2 separate regions of the Homo sapiens genome follow, and region 2 is linked to region 1. The links are contacts of gene promoters, found by promoter capture Hi-C in blood cells and fetal thymus (Javierre and others, 2016). All regions are on one chromosome and are shown on one strand. Each heading gives the region's core, a stretch centred on a gene start or on the middle of the fragment in contact. The rest is flanking DNA. Distances are from core to core; before and after follow the strand shown. Region 1 holds the start of SEPTIN11 (septin 11). Region 2 overlaps SHROOM3 (shroom family member 3).

Region 1 (5,543 bases), core at 1,873-4,372:
TCCTGACATCATTACTATCAGCACAAACCCCCTTTTCCCAGCCTCAAAAGTTTCTCAGTTTGGACAGAAATTATAGGTCATTCTAATAATAATAATACAGTATTTTCTCAGTTAACTCTCAAAACAATTCTGTGAAGGAATGAGATGTTCATTCCTACTGGATAATGTGAGTAGAGTTTTATAAAAAGACTATCTGCAAAGGTATGTGCAAAATGAAGGGAAACCATAGGGGTTTACTCTGGGTCACCCTAGGGAGGGATACTGGCTGCTTCCTTTGGTTGAGGGAGGCAACCAGCCTGCAATGGTGCCATAGTAAGGGAGCCAGGGGGGAATAAATAACCATACTCCTTCCTCTTTGTTCCATCGCTGTTGCTTCCTAGTGCCTTCACTCAACTGGAAGCTAGAGGGAAAGAAAGTCTCTTGAGTTAAGGCTCCAAAGGACAGACAGCAGGTTGGAGAGTGGATCTGGCTAACAGAACACGTCCTCCCCCAGGACTCACTGTTACTACCCTATTTTACAATAGAAAAAAAAAAAATGAGATGAAAGTTTAACTTATTTGATATAACAAAGCTCATAAGTGATCATCTGTAGCTGAAGTGCCAGGTTCTCCCCACTCTGCCACTCTCTCGCTAAGGCTCCAACATTCTAGCAATGCCAGGATACCCACCCTCCCCATAGCATCTTCACATCCCAAATGAGATGTTGGAATATGTAACGTTAAGTTTTGCTGATTAGAATAAACTAACCTACCCACCAAGGTAGGGCATTCACATTCTTACAATCTAAGCAGATGAGTTTACAGCATATACATTCACAAAATAAATAAGTAAAAAAAAAAAATTTGATAAACAAATTCTACAGTCTGTTCTGGTCAAGATAACACAGTTCCTTTGCAACTGCCCTTACATCCGGTTGGTGGTGTGTGGAGCCCTCTTTTCCCAGGCCTTACATGAGGCCTCTGGTCCATGGGCAGTGCTGCTGCTGTCTGATCCTCCTTATGGAGAAAGGACAAAATGTCCATGTACCAGAGCTGCAGAAGAAAGTATTTGTCTTCCCCCTCCCTTTGCACAGCACCCATCTGTGTGTAATCTTATTATTATATATTTTTTGAGACAGGGTCTCACTGCGTCACCCAGACTGGAGTGTAGTGGCGCGATCTCGGCTCACTGCAACCTCCGCCTCCAGAGTTCAAGCGACTCTCCCACCTCAGCCTCTATAGTAGCTGGGACTACAGGCAAGCGCCACCATGCCTGGCTAATTTTTGCATTTTTTTAGAGCCAAGGTTTCACCATGTTGGCCCACCTCAGCCTCCCAAGGTGCTGGGATTACAGGCGTGAGCCACCGCGCCCGGCCCATTTATGTGTAATCTTAATTCAACACTTATTGAGCGCCTACTGTATGTTTGGCATAAAATGGTGGTCCCTAATTTCAAAAGATTTGGAGTCTAGAGGGCAGAAATTGAAGAGGTTGGTGCTCTGCACGTCTGAGTCCGCCCACAGACTGAATAAATAAGCTCTGCGTCGGCGCCCCTCACCTTTCTTTCATGGCCAGACTTTTCTCTGGCGGTTCCACAGCTGTCCTGACAGTGGAATTCAGACGGGGTGACCAAGCCCCTAGCCCACCTACCAGCGAAATCCAGCATCAGTTCCAGGGCAGCCGGACCCGCGCCCGGGGACGACTGACCCTTAGCCCAAGGCTGCGGGGGCGTCGGAGTCCTGAAGCGCAGGCGAGGCAGGGCCAGCGGGACAGGGAGACTCAAGGCCCCAGGGGATCTGGGCGTTTGAAGACTCAGGTCAGACTCTGAGGCGCCCGTCTAAAGAGACCGGTTGTCTTTTCCCTAATTCAGGAGGCCAGGCTGTCCCTTGGGGCGTCGTACCGAGGGCAGATCACAGCCCTTCCCTCCTCACCACACTCCCTGTGCTTCCACCCAGCTGGTTCCCCGCCCTGTCCATCGCTGTCCTCAATCGCTTGTTGTCGTGGGCCCCCCTCTCCGGCCCACGTGGGGCCGCAGGGATCCACAGCTCATCTGACACACCTCGCTGCCCTGCACGCACCGGGACCCCTCCATTCCGCCGGCCCCTCAGACACGCAGTAACACCCCAACATCTGCTGGGAAAAAAATCTTCCCCACGGCGGAGGAGTTCTCAGTCCCACGCGCCCAGAGTCGCACCCACTCGAGCCACCCGCCTGTTGCCGTCGCCACGCCCTCCAGCCGCAGCCCCAGCGCGCATTCCTACGGGTCGCCGGGTCTGTCGCCAGCGATCGAATGAAGTCGGCTGATCCCCCACGTGTGGCTGCTCCAGTGACACCCAGGGGAGGCCTCGGTCCTTACCCCTAGAGCAACCAATGGCTGCCTTAATTCTTCAGCGGGGGCGTTCTTTTTCTTCCTCCCAAGCAGGCGGCCGTTGGGTCGGCCGAAGGCAGCAGCGACTACTACGGCTCTTCCTCTCCAATGGGATCCCCTGTCTGCCCGCGCGCCACAGTGACAGCTTCCAGATGCCTGTCTTTAGTCTCCCTTCTCAAGGGAAGCGGTGGGCGACCGAGGTGCGGCCTGGAGGGCCCCCATGTGGGAAGGGAAGACTTGCGGAAGGGCAATTCTTCCAGTGCGGAGACGAGGAGGCCAGCCCAGCCGCACTTCGGTCGCCCACCGCTCCGCCTGGTGGTCCGCAGCCCCTTCCAGGCCGGCTTCTCCGGGTGGGGCGTGCTAGTCCGGGGCTAACTTTCCGCCACGTGCTGTCCCTGCGACCCGTCTCCCCCGGTCGCCCTTCCTTCTCCCGGCGGCCGCTGGAGCTGCCCGCTTCGTGGAGCCGGTGGCAGGCCCCGGGGCTGGGAGCTCGCGCCCAGGCTTTTACTCAGATTCCAGCACCTGATGGAGCAGGGGGTGGCGGCCAGCGCACAGGCTGTCGGCATCTCATGGCAGCGGAGACGGTCGTTTGGGGACGGAGGGGCGAGCCCCGCGGCCGGGGCCAGTGGAGCTGGGCTCGGAGCCCGCCCACCATCCTCCCGCCCACCACCGCGGCCGGGCGCGCAGGCTCACACCCCTTCCTGGGGAAGCGAATGGTCCCTTCCAGGCGGGTGGCCATGTTGCTCTAATAAAGCGGGAGGGGCGGCGGCGTGGGGGGAGCAGATGCCGCTGGCTGCCAGCGGGACGCCGGCGAGCAGAGCGCAGCCGCGAGGGAGGCGCGAGGGAGGCGAGCCGGAGCCCGAGCACTAGCAGCAGCCGGAGTCGGCGTAAAGCACCCGGGCGCAGCCGGAGCCGGTGCCGCAGCTGCGATGGCCGTGGCCGTGGGGAGACCGTCTGTGAGTGCTGGGGCCTCGCCTGCTGCTCCTCGGGCGCCGGGTGGTCTCTGCTCTGGGGCGGGTGCGGTGAGGACCACAGGGGAGCCGGGCGGGTGCTCGGCCCCGCGGCGGCGGCGACGGCTGTGGGTGTGTGCACGAATTTGGGCGCGCGTCTGGGGTCGGGGTTAGGAGCCCAGGGGCTCAGTTACGTGATGCAACAGTGGATCGCCTCGTCGCGCCCCTCTTCTGGGAATGCGAAAGAAAAAGGACCCCTCTCCTGTTCCCTTTAAAATAATTCTTTGAGGCGCGGCGTGTCTCAGCCGCCTCCCTCTGCCCGCGCACCTCTTCCCTCGTGACAGCCAGAAGGGCGCCGGGTTCGGGGCTTTCCTCCAGTCTCCCCCGCGCCGAGGGGGCGCTCAGGGCATGGGAATTGCGAGCTGAAGTGCTGCGTGTGGCACTGCTGTAGAAGCAGGTCAGAGGGGTGGGATTTCCGTGGTGGCCTCCCCAGCGCATTGTGAGATCCCGGACACCCTCGGGCATCCACCCGGCTGAGCGGGCCCTGCCCAGGATGTGGACAAAGCCCCAGATAACACACACAAAGTTTTCTGGAGGCTCCCTTGTGGTGTGGGTGGAAGGACTGAAATGTTCTGCGGCTGAAAGGCCGGGGGCGGCGGGCTGAGGAGGCTGGGACGCGAGGAAGAGGAAGGGCGGGCGGGTGCGTGAAGAATCGAGTGCCCCACGGCGGGAGGGAGGAGAGTAGGAGGGAGGAGATACCTTTGCCCCGAGTGTGTGGGCCAAGGCGCCGCGCCTACTGGGTTGCAAGACTCGGTCCGCGCCCCGGGGCCGGGCCGGAGGGGAGCGGGACTCCGAGGGTGCGGTTCAGTGGCCGCTCCGCATCCCCAAGTGAAAGGCGGAGGAAGGGGCGGCGGCGGCCTTTCCTTTTTTTTGAAAGGAGCGGAGCTGGGTGGGAAAGGCGGAGTCCTCCTGTTTTCCCTTTCCCCTTTTCATCGTCGATGTTCACAGTCCACTCGCCTTACTGGCTTTGGGGGCGCCTCGGGCGATGTCTTTCCCTGTCTATCACCTCCTCTTCCCTTTTTCTTCTTCCCTTTCCCACAGCTGTGCAGCTGCAGGTGGTGGCTCGGGAGATTTTGTAGTTACAGACGAAAGACTTACTGAGATACTGGAAGCTCGGAAATCCCAGAAATGCAAGGCTGTGCTCTCAGGCTCCCGGCTCTTCCCCCTCTCCCCGCCTAACTCCTCCCCAGATACGCGCGCCTTTTGCACCCTACCCCCTCGGGAGAAGTTCATGGGTCCCTTTGCGGATTCTAATTCGATTTGGTGGTTCGGCTGCCCGCGGTGCTTTCAAAGACGTTTTCTGCAGTCAGAAAACACAGCGGTCATATCGAATCATGACTGTCTTTTAGGCCTTTTCAACTCTACGATTTAATGACATGGCTCTTTTAAGAATTCTGGTCTTCTTTTGCACATAAATTGTGCTCTTGATAATTAGTGGTCACATGTAGGTTATTGTTACTGAGGGAATTTGCATAGTCTCTGGGCTAGTCGTTTTATTTTTGGTGAGAAAATTGAGGTCTATAGAGGTGAAATTTATCTGGTTAAATTACTCCTCCCCCTGCCCCCCATTATACTTATTAGCAGGCATAGATTCAGAGAACTAAAATAACAATATCTGCTTTAGATAAATTGGCAAACGTTTAGGATTGCAAATATTCAGTGGGGGTGTTTGGCTTTTTCAGTAACACGTATTATTGCTGGTGCATTCTTGAGGGATGGAGGAGGTGGAAGAAATAATTAGCTGCACATTTTCTATAAATTAGTTCATATATGTCAGTTAAATAGGAACAGTATGTGGATTTAAGGTTTAGTTGTGTGGCCGTAATCACATCCAACACCAAGTCGGCCAACCATATGTGAGCTTAATCCCACAGAATTCTTATGTTAGACCTCCCTCTTCAGATAATAGAGGAGATTTTTTTTAAGTATACGTGCACAGAGGAAGTGACTTCTTTCTGCGCACTCTGTTGTCACTGGAATTAAAATTAAATTACAATCTAAAGACAGAAGACTTTTCTTTTGGAAACCTAATGTACGAGTGATTAGGAATTGACTATAAAGTTAGAAAGTCTACAGAAAATATGTGATCACATTTCACAGATAATTGTTGAATCCTTTCACTTTGTTCATTGGGCTATTGTCTTAAGTGTGGTCTCTGCAGTTATGGCTTTAAAACAAAGTCAATGAA
Region 2 (5,100 bases), core at 1,812-4,311, 430 kb before region 1:
TATTATTTAGCCATAAAAAAGAATGATGTACTGATACATGCTGCAATGTGGAGAAACCTTAAAAAACTGAAAGAAGGCAGACACCAAAGGCCACATATTGCATGATTCCACTCATATGAAATGCCCAGAACAGGCAAATCCATAGAAAAATAAAGTACTTCAGTGGCTGCCAGGGGCTGGTTTGGTATAGGGGAGAATGGAGTAGGACTGCGAGTGGATATGAGGTCTCTTTTGGGACGATGAAAATGTTCTGAAATTAGATAGTGGTCCTAGTTCCACAACTCTGTAAATACACTATAAGCCAATGAACTGTTCAATGAAAAAGGGTGAATTTTATAGTATGTGGATTTAATTTTATGATATGCGAATTACATCTCAATAATATATGAAGCGTGAAACTTTATTCAATAAATATATTAAACATTTAAAATATAATTCAATTAAAATTAAAAATGAAGTATAGGGAAGGAGAACAAGACAACGAGGAAAGATGGAAGAGAAAATACTTGGCTCAAGAAAGAAAATGAGCTGGGTGCAGTGGCTGACATCTGTAATCCCAGCACATTGTAAGGCCAAGGAGTTCAAGACCAGCCTGGGAAACATAGTGAGACCCATTTGTTAAAAAAGTTCAGATGTGGTGGCTCACACCTGTAATTCCAACACTTTGGGAGGCCAAGGTGGGTGGATCGCTTGAGGTCAGGAGTTCGAGACCAGTCTGGCCAATGTGGTGAAACCCCGTCTCTACTACAAATACAAAAATTAGCTGGGCATGGTGCTGGAAGCCTGTAATCCCAGCTACTTGGGAGGCTGAGGCAGGAGAATTGCTTGAACCCAAGAGGTAGAAGTTGCAGTGAGCTGAGATCACGCCTCTGCACTCCAGCCTGGGTGACAGAGCAAAACTCTGTCTAAAAAAAAAAAAAAAAAAAAAAATTAGCTGGATGTTGTGGCATGTGCCTGTAGTCCTAACTACTCAGGAGCCTGAGGCAGAAGGATCAGTTGAGTCCAGGAGGTTGAGGCTACAGTGAGCCAAGATGGTGCCACTGCATTCCAGCCTGGATGACATAATGAGAACTTGTCTGAAAAAAAAAAGGAAGGAAGGAAGAAAATGAAAACCAAACAAGAGAAGAGAGGCTGATTCCATGATTTTCAACACAATAGAAATTTCCATTGTTCTCTGAGATTCCCTTGGGCTCTGGTCTTCAGAATGTTATTGTTATTATTATTATTTCCTTTAGAACTTCTAATGAGCACATTGACCATTGCTTCCAGGTTTTCGAATTGTCCTTTGCCCTTAAACTCCTCAGTGGCTTGGGTTTTATTCCAATAGAGCAGAGGATATGAAATATTTCTTGGTTAATGTTTCTGGGTTTGCAGTATCAGTCAGTGACCAGAGTTGGATTTTACGTCTAAAAACCATATAAACTCAAGCCGAGACTTGTCTGGGTGTAGACTTCCCATTGCCAAATTTAATTTTATTATTTAAAGTCATGTTGAGAAGTCATGTAGGTGGTCTTTCTTCTAAGCTAGGACAGACTTATCAGTCTCACTTGCCTGGTACTACTTTATGAGGTAAATAATTAATTTGAGATATTAGGCATAAGCTGGTCTTGATCTGTTCTCAAACTCCAGGTGGGTAGAAAGCTCAACTGTTGACACAGGGCCTGGCATGGGAAATGATTACATGGGAAGCCATGTCTGATAACCAGAAATGATACTTCATAATAACACAAAGATAATGAGAGAGATTGGGAGTCAGGTTAGTGTGTGAAACTAGCAGTAGACCGAGAGGGAAAGTGGGTTGTGATCCTTCTTTGAAGTCACCACAGAGTCTTTCTGCTCCTTCACCCACTATGGTTAGTGAATGACCAAGGATACTGACTTTACCTCCTACTATTACTCAAATGTATATCTCTTCTCCGTCATTTCTCCTGTTCAGTTCCTCTTTCTCTCTAGCCTGGTCAATTGCAATATCTTTGTAACATGTTTTCTAGACTGTAATATTGCTCCTATTATCCATCCTTCCAACTAGGAAAGTAATATTCCTGAAGTCCAAATCATGCCATGTCCCTACCTTATTAGTTCTCTGTGTTGAGATCAGATGAAGCTATAGGCAGAGATGCTCTTATGACATGAAGGACTGGGGTTCCCTTGTAAGACCATCAGAATTTGCCCTATCTAAGCCCCTACTCAGGAGCCTAGAGGAATCCCTGAACTGAATGGTCTGAGTCAGCTGATACTCTCAGATAACAGCACTTTGCTCATAATATATGAAAACAGGAGCATGATTTAGAAAAAAAAAAGGAACCAAAATCACCAGCTAATAGATATTATGCAATAAGCACATTACAGAAACACAAAGTCCTGGTGTACATCACCAGGGCAGTCCCTGAGGACAGTCTAGCCAATAACTACACTTAAGTTGGGTCTCCAGATCTGATTTTCTAAGTTTCTGATCCTGGATCCTTTCATAAATTATAGCTGCTACCTCCAATCCCACCCCAAGTCTCATGAACAGGAAATCTGTGAAAAAGTTTTACAGGGAGGTTTGAGAACTCCCTCTGAGCTAGCCAATCCAGAGTCTTGCTTTCAGCCAAGCTTCCATCATACCCAGATTTTAATGATGAGTTATTTATGTTCTCACTTAAGGAAATCCTTTCCTACCCTTTGGAACTTCTATTTATCTTGTTATTAAAACTGTCTTCAAATAGATTTCCTGCTGCAATACAACACACTTGGTGACTTTCTCAGTCTTACAATGGGATTAGATATTTAGTGCTGAAAGGATCATTGCAAGGAGAGCAATCAGGTTTCTTCTCAGTGACAACTGCTTGGTCTTCTTTGCTGTAAAAGAACTTTGCTTTGAGCTTTGATACATGGAAAATGTCTGCCAGAGGCCCTGGTGAGAAAGAGTCCGTGTGTCTGCCCATCTTGGGTCATACCCTTGTCATCCAGGAACTAACAAGTCACCCCAGTTTACATGCAGTTGGCATTGGATGGGTGTAGGCAAATCACCTGGACTATCAAAGATACAGTGTCTAAAAAAGGCTCACTTCCTCCCTATCCCAGGTGGTAACACTGCATCGCAAGTACAGGGCATCCCAAATACAGAACATCCCTAACCCTGCATGCCCAGGGCACTGTTCTCAGCTCTGCTGGTCTGACCAGGTAGTTTCACAGAATTCTTGCTTGGTTAACTTGTAGTTTTTTGACATGATGTGCTAGATAGGTAAGATTTAGGATTCTTATCCATGTAAATGAAACTTAAAAAGAATTTCTCCTGATTGAGTTGCTTAGGGTTTTTGTTTGTTTGTTTGGTATATATATATATATATATAAAGGGGATGTTAGGGCTGTAGTCAGTGGCTGATTATTTGAAAATTTCTTCAACAATATGGGTTCTGTTCTGCTAATTCTCAGACCAATGAGGGCCTGTGTATGCTAGCAGAGAGAGGAAAAGACTAGGGTTTTCAGATTAGGACTCTGGGCCAGAATTTGTTACCATGTGACCTTGGACCACTCATTTAACCAAAGCTTCCCAGCCATTCCCCGTGGAAAGGAAGTGGATTGAATGACCTCCCGGTAGCCTCACCGGGATATTGCGGCTGCAGCAGAGCAAGGGCTGCATATAGAAGAGGAACATGAAGACTTTTTCCTTACAAAGTAAATGATATGAATTGACTGTGGTAAAGTTTCTAAATCAGATTTTTTTTAGTCCAGAGGGACAGCTTTTAAAATGAGAGATTTATTTAAGTTATAAGGAAATATCTGTCAACCCTCAGAAATTGCAAGATGATTATTTTGGTTGTGTGTGTGTATGTGTGTGTGTATTCCTAGTGGAGGGTGAGAGCTTGACTCTTAAGAATCATATAAAATATCAAATTATCTCAACTTCTGATAAATAGGGGGAAAGACAGACATTTTGGGGAGGTTCAAACCTCTATAATTCTTTAGGCATTTAACCCCCCAAGAGCAGGGACTACATTTATTCATTCGTAGTGTCCTCCACTCCATATCAGCATCTGGCACCTAATATGCACTCCATAAATCTTTGTTGTGGTTGAATGAGATCATTTTCCCCATGTCTTTGAAAGACAGAGGCAAAAACAGAGTGTTCTCATTAATGGACAGGGTTTTATTTCATTTTCTTTCCCCTCCCCCCTCCTTCCTTTTTGCCTGTCTGCCTGCCTGCCTTCCTTCCTTCCTTCTTTCCTTCCTTCCTACCTTCCTTCCTTCCTACCTTCTTCCTTCCTTCCTTCCTTCTTGCCTGCTTGCCTGCCTGCCTGCCTGCCTGTGTTAAATAATCTGAATGATTTCAAAGAATCAAAAATGGCTGTTCACATTTGGTAGGGTTCTACGGAGCTTATCTAACATATTTCTAAATGAGTACTGTAACACATCTGGGGCCAGGCACCCAAGCCTGTTCCTGTGTACTCTCTCATTTGCCTAGAAAACATAAATACTGATACAGGTCAGGGAAGCAAACTCTTGAGGGCTGTATTAAAATTCTTTTTATTGCAAGCGATGTAAACTCAATGAAGCAAAAAGAAGATATTTATTGAACCAGTACAAAAAGCGCAAGGGCATAGAGATTACATACCCTAGAGATCACTGGAAGTGGAACAAGAATGGAGCTAGGAGTCTCCTTCTCCTAACACTGCCTCTCTCTGCTTGTTTTCTTCATTCACACCACAGTCTGGGTACACAGCTGGTGAAGCCTCAAGATGCGGCATAGCCTTGCCCTTGGAAGAGAACTGAGAGCTACTCTCTGGTTGTAAGTGAAGAAATCCCAGCAAAGGCTTCTGGTTGGTTAGGCTTAGGCCACATGCCCACCTGGGTGGCCAGTGAAACACTATGGTTGGGAAAACCTTAGAATCACTGACTGTAGACGGGAGGGCTATTCCCTTAAAGGAGGGATGCCTTTCCTAGAAAGGAGGGTGCTGGATAAACAAAGTGCATCTCTAGGGGTCAGGGAGTAGTCATAGAAACTATGGACCAAAAGATAGCATTTGCTGACCAAGAGGCCCCAGTTTACTCCTAAATGTTCAGAGGGTGCATTTAACTTCAGTGACTTCAATCAATTCTGTAAATTTTGGTAAACAG

Evidence for each region. The method cuts DNA at HindIII sites, captures the fragments that hold promoters and counts their contacts. A CHiCAGO score of 5 or more calls a contact.
Region 2: a fragment that was not itself captured here is called in contact with the fragment with the promoter of SEPTIN11 in region 1 in 5 of 17 cell types (M2 macrophages, endothelial precursors, M1 macrophages and 2 more); the score reaches 9.3 in M2 macrophages.

Annotation. Positions count from the first base shown.
Region 1 is chr4:76,946,630-76,952,172 of GRCh38, forward strand. SEPTIN11 (septin 11) reads left to right here and starts at 3,123. Exons shown (of 10, transcript NM_018243.4): 1 at 3,123-3,301. The coding sequence starts at 3,275. It overlaps LOC105377294 (a long non-coding RNA gene), which reads right to left and starts at 2,936. Exons shown (of 3, transcript XR_001741739.2): 1 at 2,334-2,936. RefSeq lists an enhancer at 1,908-1,987 and silencers at 2,898-3,077, 3,108-3,417. The HindIII fragment of the contact is 7,046 bases long and covers 1-5,543 here.
Region 2 is chr4:76,514,307-76,519,406 of GRCh38, forward strand. The region is part of intron 1 of SHROOM3 (shroom family member 3); the gene reads left to right. Among named protein-coding and RNA genes, the nearest start is that of MIR4450, 57 kb to the right of the region's middle. The HindIII fragment of the contact is 936 bases long and covers 2,594-3,529 here.